Linked DNA regions of Homo sapiens: all the other regions are linked to region 1. The links are contacts of gene promoters, found by promoter capture Hi-C in blood cells and fetal thymus (Javierre and others, 2016). All regions are on one chromosome and are shown on one strand. The core of a region is centred on a gene start or on the middle of the fragment in contact, and the rest is flanking DNA. Distances in the headings are between cores, read along the strand shown. Region 1 holds the start of SCLY (selenocysteine lyase). Region 2 has its middle 46 kb from the start of UBE2F-SCLY. Region 3 overlaps RBM44 (RNA binding motif protein 44). Region 4 overlaps PER2 (period circadian regulator 2). Region 5 overlaps ILKAP (ILK associated serine/threonine phosphatase).

What was found. Contacts are between HindIII fragments. The CHiCAGO score rates a contact against its expected background, and 5 or more counts as called.
Region 2: a contact is called between a fragment that was not itself captured here and the fragment with the promoter of SCLY in region 1, in 5 of 17 cell types (non-activated CD4 T cells, activated CD4 T cells, erythroblasts and 2 more). The highest score is 6.2, in non-activated CD4 T cells.
Region 3: a contact is called between a fragment that was not itself captured here and the fragment with the promoter of SCLY in region 1, in 1 of 17 cell types (total CD4 T cells). The highest score is 5.2, in total CD4 T cells.
Region 4: a contact is called between a fragment that was not itself captured here and the fragment with the promoter of SCLY in region 1, in 1 of 17 cell types (neutrophils). The highest score is 5.4, in neutrophils.
Region 5: a contact is called between a fragment that was not itself captured here and the fragment with the promoter of SCLY in region 1, in 6 of 17 cell types (activated CD4 T cells, M2 macrophages, non-activated CD4 T cells and 3 more). The highest score is 7.2, in activated CD4 T cells.

Annotation. Positions count from the first base shown.
Region 1 is chr2:238,059,471-238,062,603 of GRCh38, reverse strand. It overlaps SCLY (selenocysteine lyase), which reads right to left and starts at 1,603. Exons shown (of 12, transcript NM_016510.7): 1 at 1,461-1,603. The coding sequence starts at 1,549. The region is part of intron 8 of UBE2F-SCLY (UBE2F-SCLY readthrough (NMD candidate)); the gene reads right to left. RefSeq lists silencers at 1,394-1,843, 1,984-2,193. The HindIII fragment of the contact is 10,603 bases long and covers 1-3,133 here.
Region 2 is chr2:237,919,121-237,922,121 of GRCh38, reverse strand. No RefSeq gene overlaps it. Among named protein-coding and RNA genes, the nearest start is that of UBE2F-SCLY, 46 kb to the left of the region's middle. The HindIII fragment of the contact is 7,029 bases long and covers 1-3,001 here.
Region 3 is chr2:237,832,556-237,835,791 of GRCh38, reverse strand. RBM44 (RNA binding motif protein 44) reads right to left here. Exons shown (of 16, transcript NM_001080504.3): 14 at 1,650-1,795; 15 at 1,369-1,514. The coding sequence ends at 1,391. Among named protein-coding and RNA genes, the nearest start is that of RAMP1, 25 kb to the left of the region's middle. The HindIII fragment of the contact is 2,460 bases long and covers 396-2,855 here.
Region 4 is chr2:238,244,519-238,247,470 of GRCh38, reverse strand. PER2 (period circadian regulator 2) reads left to right here. Exons shown (of 23, transcript NM_022817.3): 23 at 947-2,952. The coding sequence ends at 1,096. Among named protein-coding and RNA genes, the nearest start is that of HES6, 6.0 kb to the right of the region's middle. RefSeq lists an enhancer at 124-1,323. The HindIII fragment of the contact is 6,913 bases long and covers 1-2,952 here.
Region 5 is chr2:238,196,379-238,199,229 of GRCh38, reverse strand. All of the region lies in intron 1 of ILKAP (ILK associated serine/threonine phosphatase), which reads left to right. Among named protein-coding and RNA genes, the nearest start is that of ILKAP, 5.9 kb to the left of the region's middle. The HindIII fragment of the contact is 2,578 bases long and covers 10-2,587 here.

The sequences.
Region 1 (3,133 bases), core at 354-2,853:
CCCATCTCTACTAAAAATACAATAAAATTAGCTGGACGTGGTGGCACGTGCCTGTAATCCCAGCTACTTGGGAGGCTGAGACAGGAGAATCGTTTGAACCCGGGCAGTGGATGTTGCAGTGAGCCAAGACTGCACCACTGCACTCCAGCCTGGGTGACAGAGTGAGACTCCATCTCAATTAAAAAAAAAAAAAAAAATCACTCAATAGGTACAAGGCTTTGACAAGTTTGACTCGCCATCCTTTACCACTCTGGTACTAGTATTAATAGTCCTAGGAATCCCCCAGCCCGGCTTGACTTTGCATGTGCCCTTATATCTGTTTTTCTTTCCTATAAATAAGCATCCAAAGTACCTTAGGCTAGCTAGTGTTTGTTGAGCGACTGTAGCTCTTCAATCTGCTGCTGGGCTGAACAAATCTATTTTGTTCAGATTAATACTTTACACATTCCTTTGCTTCATTATTTGCTGCTTCCTTAAAATGCTATCAGTATTGGATGAGCAGGCTCAACTTTGTTAGCTTCATAACCAAAAAATAAAAAATCTTGGGAATCTCGCTCCACTGATTCCCTAGGGGATATTTTCCCAGATCCCTTCACTTTGTTCCAACCAAGGTAGAATGCCAAATGTGTGTGCTTTAGGCCTGGACCCCCTCATATTCTAAGCATGGGTAGCGAATGAGCTCACAAAAAGGAAAAAGAGGGGTCTGGAAAGAAGACACACAAACCAGAAAATGCATACCCCTGCCTCCTGCTCTTCTCGGACTTAACTAGTATGGATACCACGTGCTTCGGGTCTCCGCGCTTCTCAGCGGTGGCCATCCCGTTTCCTGCAGCTGGGCCAGCAGTCTGGGAGAACCCTTGATTCCCTTTCACCTGCCCCAGTGCACCAGCTTCCTACCAACGCATCCGTTTCTGGGCGCACACCACATCTCTCTCCTAGGTTGTTACAAGATCCCCAACTGGCTTCCCGGCTTCCTCTCGTCCCATGCCTACCCGCGCCCCTACTTTCTAGGAAGCAGCCAGAAGGACTCCTTCAAAACACTTAAATTGCATCGCCCCGTGATCAACTTCCGAGGCCCCATAAGGCTCCGAATGAACCCCAAAGTTCTTCCCGGGCTCAGGGGCTCTGCCGGTTCACCTCCGGCAAGTCCCCTGCCCTTCGCATCTGCTGTGCCCTCTTCCTGGCAGGCTCTGCTTCCCCAGAACCTGCAAACCTCACCCCTGGAAGTCACTCGGGTTTCGGCCCCAAAGTCACCTCTCCGTGGGCCCTTGCGGGGCCACAGCTCGCACCCGCTCCTCCTTGAAGCTCGCATCCCTGACTTAGGCCGACCTCGCGGACATCCCCGCGCGGGACGCCCCACGCGAGAGCGGCCACAGGCCGGGAGCCCCCTTCGTCCTCCCGCGCGGGACAATCGGCGACAGGCGCCGGCCGCTCCCCAGCCCTGCCCTAAAGGCGCGCACCTCTCCGGCGAGTTGTGTTTCCCGCAGCCGCTGGGCTGACTCGCCGCGGGTGCCGGCGCATCCCTCCCCGGCGCCACGGCCGCCTCCATCCCCGCCCCACTGCTGCCGGGCATCCAGCCTCCTTCCCGCGGAGCGCTACGGGCCCAGAGCGCCGGGGAGGAGGCGGGGCCGCGACGCCCGGGCGCGTCCGGATTGGCTGAGCGAAGCACCCCAGCCAATCCACCCGCTTCAGAGGGCCGCCGAGCCCCCAGCGGGGAGGCGAGGCTGCGCTGGGTCAGGTGACGGGTGGGGGCGGGGCTTAGCGCGTCACAGAGCTTCCCGGGAACCGGGCGCTAGAAGCCGCGTCTCCTGGGCCGGCGGATCCCCGCACTTTCACTTCCGGGGGAGCCCCGTGACCTTTGCTGTCTGCGGCAGGGCCGCCATCGGGCCGCGGCCGGTTAGTCGGCGTAAGAGCAGGCGGGGCCCGAGCTGGACCTGAGGAGCAGAGGCGGCTGGGCAGTCCTGCGGGTGCCTCCCTCTAGCCGCATGAGCGCGGGACCGTGCACTCCGGGAGAGCCGGGGCCGCGCGGCCTTGTTCCCCGCGAACCCTCGAGGGGAAGTGCCGGGGCCGCGGCAGCAGGGCCAGGGCCCCGGGGGTCTCCCGCAGGCCACCCTGGACAGTGATGAGCAGGTCCGCTGGACCTGCGCGTCCGTTAGTCGGAGCGGCTCCATAGGGGACCTGGATGGCGTGAAGTTAAGAGTCACGCATCGAGGATGGACTTGAGGGGATCTGGAGTAGAGGATGGGAGGGCATTGAGAAAATAGGGCCAGAGATGAGGGACTCTAAGTGGGCGTGGAAACGCAGGAAAGATTAATTCAAGATCTGTTTAGGCCGTTAAATAGGAATTGGGGCATGAGGGACAGGAAGGAAGCAAGGATTAGACAAGTGACTGGGAAGATGTTAGTGCCTTTATCTGGGTAAGAGGGAAGACGGGAGGGGGAAAGATGATGGGTTTAGCTTTGGACATGTTGAGTTGTCTGTGAGACAGTCACAAGTGTAAACATCCACCAATGGTTGGTGTCCCGCCAACCATTAAGAAAAGTCAGTTGAGAAAGTGGTAGAAATGAGCAAAAATCCTCACGAAGCCATCCTACCGTCACTTTTTTTGTTGTTTTTTGTTTTTTTGGCATAATAGTGTCTACCTTTAATTGAGCCTTGAACTATGCCAGGCAGTGTTCTAGGTATTTTTCGTGTGTTCACTAATTTAATCTTGATGATTAACCCAGTCTGGTAGGTATTTATGTATGAGGAATCCAAGATACAGAAAGGCATCTTGCCCAAGTTCACACGAGTAGTGGCTGGAGCCAAAATTCGGTTTCAAGCATGCTTTGCCAAGAGGTTGAATTTTAATTGGCTTTTCATGGGCTTTCTCTATTTTGTGTCCTGTTGGGGTCCAGAATAACTTGGCTTTTCCAGCACAGCAAATCTGCAAATTTCTGGACTCATTCTCTCTCATTCTTCCCTATAAACGCAGCTCATTTCTTGCCAAATGCAGCCAATAGCAAAGGGCCCACCAACATTTAAGAAGCAAATGGATGCACAGGAGCATGAGAACAGTCAAAAGAGGAGGAAAGGAAAGGGAATTGAGAAGGAATGTCAAAAAAGTCAAGAAGACACATAATAGTGTAAAGTG
Region 2 (3,001 bases), core at 161-2,660, 140 kb after region 1:
GAACACAGGCATCAGTGGAGAGTTGCCCATTTTTCAGAAGCGGGATGACAAGCCCCTGCTGCCTTTCACCAATGCCCGTGAATGCACCTGCTTGGGAATCCTCTTTGGAATCTCCCTGAGGTCTTCTGCCCCTCCCCGTGTCTCCCTCATTAAACCACATTTTCCCACAATGAGAACGTGCCATGATGTGCGTTGATGCAAAGCAGGTCTTTATTCAATCTTGTGATGTTTCCGTAGCCAATGCCTTACTGCAGTGCCGTTTTCCATGACTTTTCACGTGAATTACAACACTTTAATTCCATTCCAGCTTAAATTGGCTGTGTTGGGTCAGGTAGAAAAGCCCACTGCCCTGGGTGACACTTTTATGGTTGGGGAAGTGGCTCTTGTCCTGGCTGAGTTGTGTCCTTGCCTCAGAATGTGACTTCACATCTTGAAGTCCTAACCAGCAGTACCTCAGAATGTGACTGGGTTTGGACCCAGGGTCTTTACAGAGGTGACTAAGGTTAAATGAGGTCACTGGGTGGGCCCTAACCCAATGTGACTGTGCCCTTATAAGAAGAGAAGATTAGGGCCAGGTGCAGTGGCTCATGCCTGTAATCCCAGCACTTTGGGAGGCCAATATGGGTGGATCACCTGAGGTCAAGGGTTCAAGACCAGCCTGGCCAACATGGTGAAACCCCATCTCTATTAAAAATACAAAAATTAGTCAAGCGTGGTGGCACACACCTGTAATCCCAGCTACTTGGGAGGCTGAGGTGGGAGAATTGCTTGAACCCGGGAGGTGGGGGCTGCAGCGAGCGGAGATTGCGCCACTGCACTCCAGCCTAGGTGACTGGGCGAGACCCTGTCTCAAAAGAAAAAAAAAAGATTAGGATGCAGGCACAGAAAGACGACCATATGAGGCAGGGAGGAAATGACAAGCCAAGAAGAGAGGCATCAGAAGGAACCAACCCTGCCGACCCCTTGATCTCAGGCTTCCAGCCTCCACAGCTGCGAGAAACGCACTTCTGTTGTTTAAGTCCCCAGCCTGTTATAGCAGCAGCTTGGGCAGACTCCGACTGCACTGCTTTATCCTCAGCCGAGCCCGAGGAGGAGGAGACAATCCCCAAACTCGATCGTTTCCTATCATTATGATCACCGATTATTCTCCTTTTGACTCACCCGACCTTCTGTGCAGAAGGGCTGGGAACACTGAGAGACGGGAGCATTTACCCACATGTGTTCACGTGCACGTGCAGCCACAGCTCCCAGCCCTGCTGTGAAAGTGAATCACTATGGCCCCGGTTAGCAGCGTTTGCCATGTGCCTGCCACATGGCCAAGGGCTGTCTTCACTGTGAGTCCCTGAAGTGTCCATGGCCAGCACTCTGCAGGCGATGACACTGAAGCCCAGAGGGTTGAGGAGCTTGCCTCGCCTTTCTTCCTTCCTTTCTTTTTTTTTTTTTTTGACATGGGGTCTTATTCTGTCACCCAGGCTGGAGTGCAGTGGTGTGATCATGGCTTACTGCCTCCCCAGCCCAAGCGATCCTCCCCCACAGCCTCCTGAGTAGCTGGGACTACAGGCACATGCCACCACACCCAGCTAATTTTTTAAATTTTTTTGTAGAGATGAGGTCTCACTATGTTGCCTAGGCTGGTCTCAAACTCCTGGGCTCAAGTGATCCTCCAGCCTCAGCCTCAGCCTCCCAAAGTGCTGGGATGACAGGCGTGAGCCACTGTGCCCAGCCTGCCTCACCATTTTTAATCGGCACAGCCAGGATTTGGTTTCAACTAAGGCAGCTTGGTGCCATCACTTCTATGCTACAACTTTTAAAAATATTGTTTTTTAAAACATTTTATTTACATTATATACTTTCACACCTATGACCATCTGAAACTTTTTTTTTGAGATGGGGTCTTGCTCCGTCACCCACACTGGAGTGCGGTGGCATGATTTTGGCTTGCTGCAGCCTCCCACCTCCAGGCTTAAGTGATCCTCCCACCTCAGCCTCCAGAGTAGCTGGGACCACAGGTGTGCGCCACCATACCTGGTTAAGTTTTTGTATTTTTGGTAGAGATGGGGTTTCGTCGTGTTGCCCAGCCTGGTCTCGAACTCCTGAGCTCAAGCAATCTGCTCTCCTCAGCCTCCCAAAGTACTGGGATTACAAGTGGGAGCCATTGCACCCGGCCTGACCATTTGAAACATTTTAAAGGTGGCACTGCTTCTTGTAAGAAGAGATCTTAGGTGGCAGGGGCAGGGCTGGGATGTAGGTGCTCTCATGGCAGGATGCACTGGGGATGGAAAGCAGCTGCCACCTGTCATGGACATGCACCTCCAGTCACCCCTGTCTGCCTCCCGCCCTGCCCCCAGAAAACAGGAAGCAAACTTCCCCGGCCTCCTGTCAGAGTGTCTGTGGGGAAGCGATTCACGTGGGGGCATGAGCACTGTCCCCAGGCCCAAGGATTGTGGCTGGGGTGGGGCAGAGAGGGATGCTTTGGAGGGCTGCTCTCTTCCCGCTGTTCCTCTGCACCCCCTTCACATTTTTGTAACCCAAATAAAGATGGGCACCCATGGTCCACCTCCGCACAGGCCCAGGAAGAAAAAAAACAAAGTCAGATCCAAGTTCACTTCCTAAAATAGCCTTGAAAAGCAATTTAGGTCCTTCTTAAATTTGTTCTAGGGGGAACCAAAGTGCAATTATGTTCACAATCTAGAGAAAAATGTCTTGAAACCTCTTTCCTCTCCCGTTCTCAAGGCTCCCAGCCTACATCTGCTCTCTTCTTGCCCATTCTCATCCCTGTCCCCAAAAAATACGGGTCCTCTGGCAGGTGGCCTGCTCTTTGGAGCTCAAACACCATCCTTGGAATAGGGCATGTGACCAATGCTAAGTCATCTTTTCCATGCACACAAAATTATCAGAAAGATGAAAAGTTTGCTCAAAGTCACTCAGCTAAAAAGGGGTCCAGTCAAGATCAGAACCTGCTGGGCATCGTGGCTCATGTCTGTAATCTCAGCACTGTGGG
Region 3 (3,236 bases), core at 376-2,875, 230 kb after region 1:
CAAAATCTCAGGAAAAAAAAAAAAAGATGGCTTATTTCTTTAAACCTCATGAACTAACCAACCCTCTGTTAGCTTCACACTTTTCTTCCTCAGCTTCCTCCCCTCTCTCATCACCTTCAAATAATGGAAAAGAGGTCCTTGCTCTGAATTAGGCTTTGGCTTAAGGCAATGTTGTGGCTGCTATGATCTTCTACACAGACTACTAAAATTTTCACCATATCAGCAATAAGGTTGTTTCACTTTGTTATCATTCTCCTGTCCACTGGAGTAGCACTTGTAATCCCATCAATAACTTTTCCTCATTGGCTTCACGACAATGAACCACGTGGCTAACTGGTACAAAAGGCCCAGTTTTCAGCCTATCTTGGCTTTTGACATGCCTTCCTCACTAAGCTTAATCATTTCTAGCTTTCGACTTAAAGTGAGCTCTTTCTTTTAAGAGTCATTTAATGTGACTCTTTCTTTCCCTGGAATACTTACAGGCCATTGTAGGATTATCAGTTGGCCTAATTTCAATATAGTGTCTCAAGGAATAGGGAAGACCAAAGAGAGGGAAAGAGATGGGGAAACAGCCAGTGAGTGGAGTCGTCAGAACACACACATTTATAAAATTTGCTGTTTTATATGGGTGCAGTTCAAAGTGCCCCAAAATAATTACAATAGTAACAAAGATCACTGATCACAATCACCATACAGGCGTCACAAAAAAGTTTGAAATGTTGTATGAATTACCAAAATGTGACACAGACACAAAGTGGGTAAACATTGTTGGAAAAATGGCGCTGATAGACTTGCTTGATGCAGGGTTGCCACAAACCTTCGGTATGTAAAAATTGCAGTATCTGCGACTACTGAGGGTAGATAATACAAGACAATGCAGCTTCCATCTTGCTCTCTCTCTCTCTTGCTTAGGGGAAGCCAGCTGCCATGATGCAAAGACATTTGAAGAGCCTTATGGAAGAGCCTATGTGGTGAGGAACTGAGGCCTCTTGCCAACAGACATGTGAATGAGCCCCCTGAGAAGCAGATCCTCTGGTCTCAGGGAAGCCTCTGAATGACTACAGTCCAGGCCAACATCTTGACTGCAACATGAAAAACCCTGAGCTAAAACTACCCGGCTAAGTCACTCCTGAATCCTGATCTGCAAACTGTGAGTTTATGAGTGTTGTTTAAGCCAGTCAATTTTAGGGTAATTAGTTTTGCCTTAGTAGTTAACTAATTACAGTATGCTTGTTTTAAAATTTCATATTATTTTGTGATTATATTATTATTTTAAATTTAATATGTTTTTTATGTAAAAAGAAAATGAAATCAATAGCTTATAAATTTTAAGTAATATTCAAATACAAAAGAATATGATTACTTTACCTCTTTATTGTTTTTTGAATTCCTAACTGGAAGCAGAGTTTTTCAGAAGAGATGAAGTCATCTCCACAATAGTAGTAATAGATAAGCCATTCAGAAAACCTTTATGTCTTATTCTCACTTCCTGAAGTGCATTTATAATATGGTCTCTATGAAAAAGGAAAACATACATGAGTATTTGTCTTTTCCAAAGGAATACATTCTGAATATATCTAAGTTATTAACTTGAACTATATTTTTACACAGAAGTTTTAAAGCAGTTAAAATATAATTTTGGTTATTACCTGCTGACTTCTGGATGCAGTTCAGCCAGTCTCTTTATGATCTTGGTAAAGCTACGAAGGTTCAATGTATTTGGAGGTATGAATTGAACGGGTGTATCAGGTAATAATTTAGCAGATTCAATCTGCTTACAATTCTTCTTGACACCCTAAATAAGCATTTAAAAAGTTTTCTTAAAATCAGTAAGGACCATTACATAAAGATAATACCGCTTATTCAACAATAATATATTTGAAAATTAAAATAATAAAATAAAAATTCCTTAAAAATTTACTTTAACTTGGGATTGTTTATACCAATTGCATTTACTTGAGCTGTGTTTCAGGGCCATGTAGTACAAAACATACCCAACATTTTTTCTTACTGATAAACTATAGGAGGCTATGTCTAAATAAGGCTTTCTCAACCAGATTCCTCATCTGAACCATAGAACACAGAAAATGATGTAACTACTTTCTCAATTCTCTCAAAGATAGGACATAACTAGTTTCATTTTGGATGCACAGGAGAGAGATTCATTCATTAAATAAATGTTTTAGGCTTAGGGCATTAAGGCTTAATTCTCTTAACCAACCTAAGAAAGGCTACACAGTAATTAGAGATATTTTACATTGTATTTACTATATGCTGTATGTAATGAATACAAATTGTATGCCCAGAAGTGCACTATATGCTGTGGGGGAAAAACTATAGTGACATAAAACAGAACCCTCTATTGCGAAGAGACAAAATTAAAATGACCAATTAGTTACTGTTAACACTGCAAGTAGGCTATAAATTGTAGAAAACCACTGTAAATCCCATAAAAGTTCAACAAAGGAAGGACTCAGACTTTAAAGCCTCGATGAAAAGTCAGGGCAAGACACATGATATACTGGACCTTTCACATCAGAACATTGTATCTTTCACTTGCTTGTTTATTGCCTTATCTCCCTCACTAGATTTTAGCTCCTTAAGAGTACAGATTTTTGTCTCTTTTGTTCATTGTTGCTTTCCCAGTGCCTAGAATAGTGTACACAGTTGGTATGTAATAACTATTTGTTTAATAAATAAAAAGTTTGGGATACAATAGTTTAAGTGACAGTTGAAGTTAAGTGCTCTCCAAGAAAGAAGCCAAATTATTGGTAAGTAATAACAACAACAGCTAATATTTTCTGGGTACATCTTCCATGGTAGGCACCGTTCTAAAAATTTTTCTGTATTAAGCTTATTTAAGCTCATCAACATTTGTGAGGTAATGGCTCTCATCTCCATTTTAAGATAAGGAAGCTCAGAAACGGAAAGGTTAGATTAGTTTTCCAGAGTCACATGGTGAGTAAGTGGCAGAGCCAGGTTATGAATCGAAGAGTTTTTATTAATCACCACGATTCTGCTTCTCATTGTAGACAATCAATATTTTCTAAATGAATAGAATAAATAATAATGTTGAGAATCAGAAAAAGAACAAGGGAACAAGAAATTGCCAGAAAGGAAAGAGAACTTGGAGTATAGTTTAACAAAGATGGTTACAGGAGCTTCCCTATCCACATACTCCTACCAACAGCCTGTACGGCCCTCTTTATAACGTCTCTCTCCCAACCCCATGGCCC
Region 4 (2,952 bases), core at 440-2,939, 180 kb before region 1:
TACTTCTAGCTCAGGGTCGTTCCTGATGTTGACGGTAAGATACTGGTGGGGGCTTCTGTCACCTGCCAGCTGGAGGACCGGCTTCCAGGAGCCTCACTTGCAGGCCTCTCACACACTGCTGGCTCTTGGCAGAGGCCTCAGCTCCTTGCCATGGGGACCTCTCCGTAGGGCTGCCTGGATGTCCTCACAGTGTAGCAGGTGACTTCCCCAGAGAGGAAAAGAGGAAGCCAAGGTGCCTTTTAGGACCTAGAATCAGAAGTCAGGTACTCTTTGTTAGAGGCAAATGCCTAAGTCCAGCCAAGGTTTAAGGAGAAAGGAATTAGGCCCCACCTTTTGAGGAAGGAGTGGCAAAGAGTGTGGACACGTTTCAAAATCATTGCGTCACCTTTTCTTTGGCCTGCTGTGAATGTCCAGTTGAAAATCACAGATGTCCTCTATATACCCTATGCCTCTGGAGCCCTTCTTAGTTATTGTCTCTCTCTGCTACTAGAGTGCCAGCTCCTGGGACAGGGATTTTGGCCTTTGCTGCCAGCCACCTCCTGGCTGACACCTGGTCACCTGCACCTTACTCAGTTTGAATGACTTTTTATCTTTTGAGACAGAGTCTCACTCTGTCGCCCAGGCTGGAGCACAGTAGCGTGATCTCCGCTCACTGCAAGCTCTGCCTCCAGGGTTCAAGCGATTCTTCTGCCTCAGCCTCCCAAGTAGCTGGGACTACAGGTGCCTGCCACCACGCCCAGCTAATTTTTTGTATTATTAGTAGAGATGGGATTTCACCGTGTTAGCCAGGAAGGTCTCGATCTCCTGACGTCGTGATCTGCCCGCCTCGGCCTCCCAAAGTGCTGGGATTACAGGCGTGAGCCACCGCGCCCGGCCAATTTGAATGACTTTTGTAACAACTCAGATCTCAAGTTTGTTACTGATTTCTCTTTTTTTTTCTTTTAAGGAATGTGTTTACTGTGAAAACAAGGAAAAAGGTAATATTTGCATACCATATGAGGAAGATATTCCTTCTCTGGGACTCAGCGAAGTGTCGGACACCAAAGAAGACGAAAATGGATCCCCCTTGAATCACAGGATCGAAGAGCAGACGTAACCCCTGCCCCACCTCAGCCCGGCAGCCAGCGAGGTACACCAGGTGGTGCTTGGAAGAGATGAAAGATCTTCATGGCTGTTTCCACTGAAATGGACACATATGCTCATGTTGCTTTTTTTGTTTTAGAAAAAAAAACAACATAGTTTTCTGAAGGGGCGACTTAAAACTGTGGAGAGTGGGGAGAGTTCGGAAAGAAATATGTTTTTATATATAAAATATATATGTGGAGTTTTGTGGGATGGGGAAGAGATTTTAGTTGTTATTTAACTTGAGAAAGACTAAGCGCCTCTTAGTGTCAGGGAAGTTGCCTCAGTGCTCCCAGAAGTCCTGTGACTGTGACGAGACCTCTGTCTGCTGCACCAGCTGGGGACTCTGGCTTCCAGAGCTTTCCCAGGGTGTTTGGATCAGATCAAATTTTGTCCTCTCTTGGGGACTGCTTTTTATCTGAATTATCATTTAGTCAAGGTAGAGTGTTTTTTTATACATACCAAATGGAGATAGCAGCCTCTCCTAGTTTTATTTCAAAACGTTTCACATTAAATGGTGTGAAGCGTTGTTTGGCAAACCAACAGCTTTGGCTTCTGGTGTGGTCAATATTTCAGTCTGACATAGGTTTTGTTTGTAGTGAACAAAGTTGAAACATTTGCTCTGGACTAAAGAAGCCTAGTGGTTTGTGTGGCCAACTCCATCGGATGAATGCACACGCAGACAGACCCTCTGTATATTTCTGCATTATTCTTGTCTCCTTTTCAGACCATGATGGCCAATATGGAGATTAAAATATGTCATCAGTCATCTCTTTATGGTGACTTCCCTTTGCAAACCAGGCTGTGACCAACACATGTGAGACCCAGTCCTGTTTGGTTTTCTTCCGTTGGAACCACCCAGACATCTGCTTCCACCCAGCCAAGCCCACATCACATCTCCTGGCCGAGAGCAGCCACTGCCACTCAGTCTGACAGCTTGCGACTGCATCTGTATTTTCAGGGGTGCAGTGAGCTCACCTCTCCCACTGCACCCTGGGTTGGGTGCACAGCCCTCATTCTTTTCATGAGCCCGACCTCTCTCGGAGCAGCTTCAGGCCTCTGCCAGTGTCCCCAGCACTTTTAGGTCATTTGGACACTTGGGGAAAAGTGAGGCCAGTCTGCCCGGCTTTTTACAAAACCTCATGTTGCATTGTATATTCCAAAGATGGTTCAGAAAATTTAATATTGGTCCCTGGTGGAAATTCAAAGTTATCACTGAAGAACAGTTGACTTAAAATTGGACCAAGACTATGAGGCTTAAAAGGGACCAGGGTTTTCTTTTTTTTTTTTTTTTTTTTTTTTTTTTAGATGGAGTTTCTTTTTGCCCAGGCTGGAGTGCAGTGGCGCCATCTTGGCTCACTGCAACCTCTGCCTCCCAGGTTCAAGCGATTCTCCTGCCTCAGCCTCCTGAGTAGCTGGGACCACAGGCGACTGCCACCACACCCAGCTAATTTTTTGTATTTTTAGTAGAGACAGGGTTTCACCATGTTGGCCAGGCTGGTCTCGAACTCCTGACCTCAAGCGATCCACCCACCTCGGCCTCCCAAAGTGCTGGGATTACAGGCGTGAGCCACCACGCCCAACTGGGACCAGGGTTTTCTGTTTTTTGATGGAGGTGAAATCTCTTTGTAATCCACTAGGTTTTCATCGTAAAACCATCTTATGCCTGACTATTAAACCTATTCTTCATAAACACAAGAACACTTTAATTTTTCGTTAATTTACAAAGTAACATCAGCTGCCTATGCCTATGATAAGGTAGCAGTCTGCATTCTTATGGCCATTAGATGTTACAAACTCCTTGCCTCTAAAGTCAGATCATGAAGGGAT
Region 5 (2,851 bases), core at 49-2,548, 140 kb before region 1:
GGAAAAGCTTGAACCCATCAGTAAGGATCTGGTCGAATGAGTGGAGATGCTTCCCATGTGTGGCTGTTGGAGAGGATGAATTAGACTTGGGTGTGTTGGCCTGGAGCATGCCTTGATGGGTTATGTGAACACTATATGTGGAGTATTGTGTAGAGTATGACTCTGTCTTCTACAAATTAAAATGCATGAGTCCATGTGCATGAGCATTAAGGAAAGTGGAAAGGATACACTAAACTCATACTGTGGTTGGGGGGTGTGGCGGAACCTGTCCCCCCTTTTTTCTGATAATACCTCTGTGGTGTTTGGAAAACACCTGGATTTATTTTATAGTTGAAAAAATTGAGGTATAAAAAACAATTTAGCCAAAATATTTTAACATCCTTTTTTAACTTTATTGGATACAGCAACCTTTAACCTGAATATGATCAACCCAAGGGTATTTTTCTCAGCATAGTATATAACTTCCAGTAGACTTAGCTCCAGAATGTAGATAACTGAGGAAAAAAAAAAGTTCTAGATGAGATTAACTATGATTAATGGACATTTTTAGTCTTGTATTCTTATTAGGGTTCTAATATTTTTAAGATTAGGGGAGGGGCCTCTTCCAGATTTTTAGGTCAGGGTCACACTTTGTCCAATGATTGCAGCCCCCAATGCTTTGAATTTCAGTTTATTCAAAATAGAATGTAAGGGCCTGGAGCAGTGGGTCACATCTGTAATCCCAGCACTTTGGGATGCTGAGGCAGGAAGATTGCTTGAGTACAGTAGTTCGTGACCAACCTGGGCAACATAGTGAGACCCCGTCTCTACAAAAAGTTAAAAAATTAGCTGGGCATGGTGGTGTATGCCTGTAGTTTCAGCTACTCGGGAATCTGACGAGGGAGGATTGCTTGAGCCCAGAAGGTTGGGGCTGCAGTGAGCTGTGATCACACCACTGCACTCCAACCTGGCTCACAGAGCGAGACTCTTGTCTCAATTTAAAAAAAAAAAAATCTAAGGTTTTGACTAATCAGTAGTTTCCTTATGTATCTATGACCTATAGATTTTTTTTTAAAGAATCCACATACAGACTTCTAAGTTAGATTCTTTTGATGATGCAAAAATTATTTCCAGAGATTTTATAAAATCTCAGGATTATCATCATAGGATTGTTGTAAGGGTAAAATGAGTTGATGTTTATGAAGTTTCTGGAAGGGTGCCCATGTATGGAGGCAGCATAGTACCTCACTAAAAGCACGGACTGCATGGCTTTGAATCCCCACTCCACTCCTTACTGGCTCTGTGATCTTGAACAGGTAATTGACCTCAGTGCCTCAGTTTTTTCATCGGTAAATAATAATAGTACCTATCTCATAAGAATTAAATGAGAAGATGTGTGGAGCTCTTAGAATAGTGCCTGACAGGCAGGCAGTATTATCATTTTTAGAAGCCATTCCCAGTTGTGGCCAGCAAAATGTAGGATGGTCTCATTGTGTTTAATTGAAATACCTCTCATAGTATTCCAGAGTGAGAAAGAAGGTGATAGGCAGTTCTCTGGGGATGGGGCTCAGTTTGGGGCACCATCTGACTGAATTGTAGCCAGAGGAGAGGCGGCCAGGCTAGTATTAATACTAAGCTGTAAGTTGCATTGTGAGGAATGCTTACAAGAACTGAAAATATATTTATTACCTGGGTAAAAGAAGACTTCCTCCCTTGTACAGTGGCAGTGGAAAGACCTGATTTAGATGGGCAAGTTAATTCAAAAGTTAAAATATGACCTGGTACAAGCGGAAGGGTTGTTTGCTCTTCATGTTGGGCTGTTACCTGTAAATGTCCCCTCCCTTGTCCTAAGACATCTGGCTCTGTGACACCACTGAATGCAGCGTGATTGTCTGGAACATCTCATGTGGTTTTTGAGTCTGTCCGGAGAACGGGCGTTGTGATTGTTAGACCCAATGTTTGGGCAAAAGTGACCTACTTCGGGATATTAGGAATTCTTGTAAGTGGATTAATACATTGAGTAATGGTTATCCTAAATACTTTTTTTGGGTGCTGGGGACAGAGTCTGGTTTTGTCCCCCAGGCTGGAGTGCAGTGGCGCTATCTCAGCTCACCGCAACCTCCGCCTCCCAGGTTCAAGCAGTTTTCCTGCTTCAGCCTCCCAAGTAGCTGGGGCTACAGGCACCCGCCACCATGCCTAGCTAATTTTTGTATTTCTGGAGAGACAGGGTTTCACCATGTTGGTCAGGCTCATCTTGAACTGCTGACCTCAGTCCTGACCTTGACCTCCCAAAGTGCTGGGATTATAGGTGTGAGCCACCACACCTGGCCATACTAAATACTTTTTAATGGCTTTCTTCTGCTTCTTGTATACTTCTAATAGAGTCTTTATGTCACTTGTAAGAAAAGTGAAAGTATTTGCAATTCCTTAATTTGTTTAGGGTCATCCTGAAGGATTAGAATACATTTTCCCATTTGTATTAGGGATATAAAGCAAAATAGTTATTTTTTGTTAACTCAGGAATTTCTTGTGTATTTTAGGTACTTCTGACGCAAAGACCCCGGGAGAAATTTCATTCCCTTAAGTTTATAAATTTTTAATTAAAGCTTTTGTTTTTAAAAGAAGAAAGTTGATACCCAGCTCATTTCTAAATGGAGGCAAAAAGATGATAGGGATGACCCTCTTGGGGGATATAAATTTATTTGTTTAGTTGAATTGGTGTTTGGCCTGGCACAATAGCTCATACCTGTAATCCCAGCACTTTGGGAGGCTGAGGCGGGTGGACCACTTGAGGCCAGGAGTTTGAGACCAACCTGGCCAACATGGTGAAACCCCGTCTCTACTAAAAATACAAAAATTAGACCAGACATGG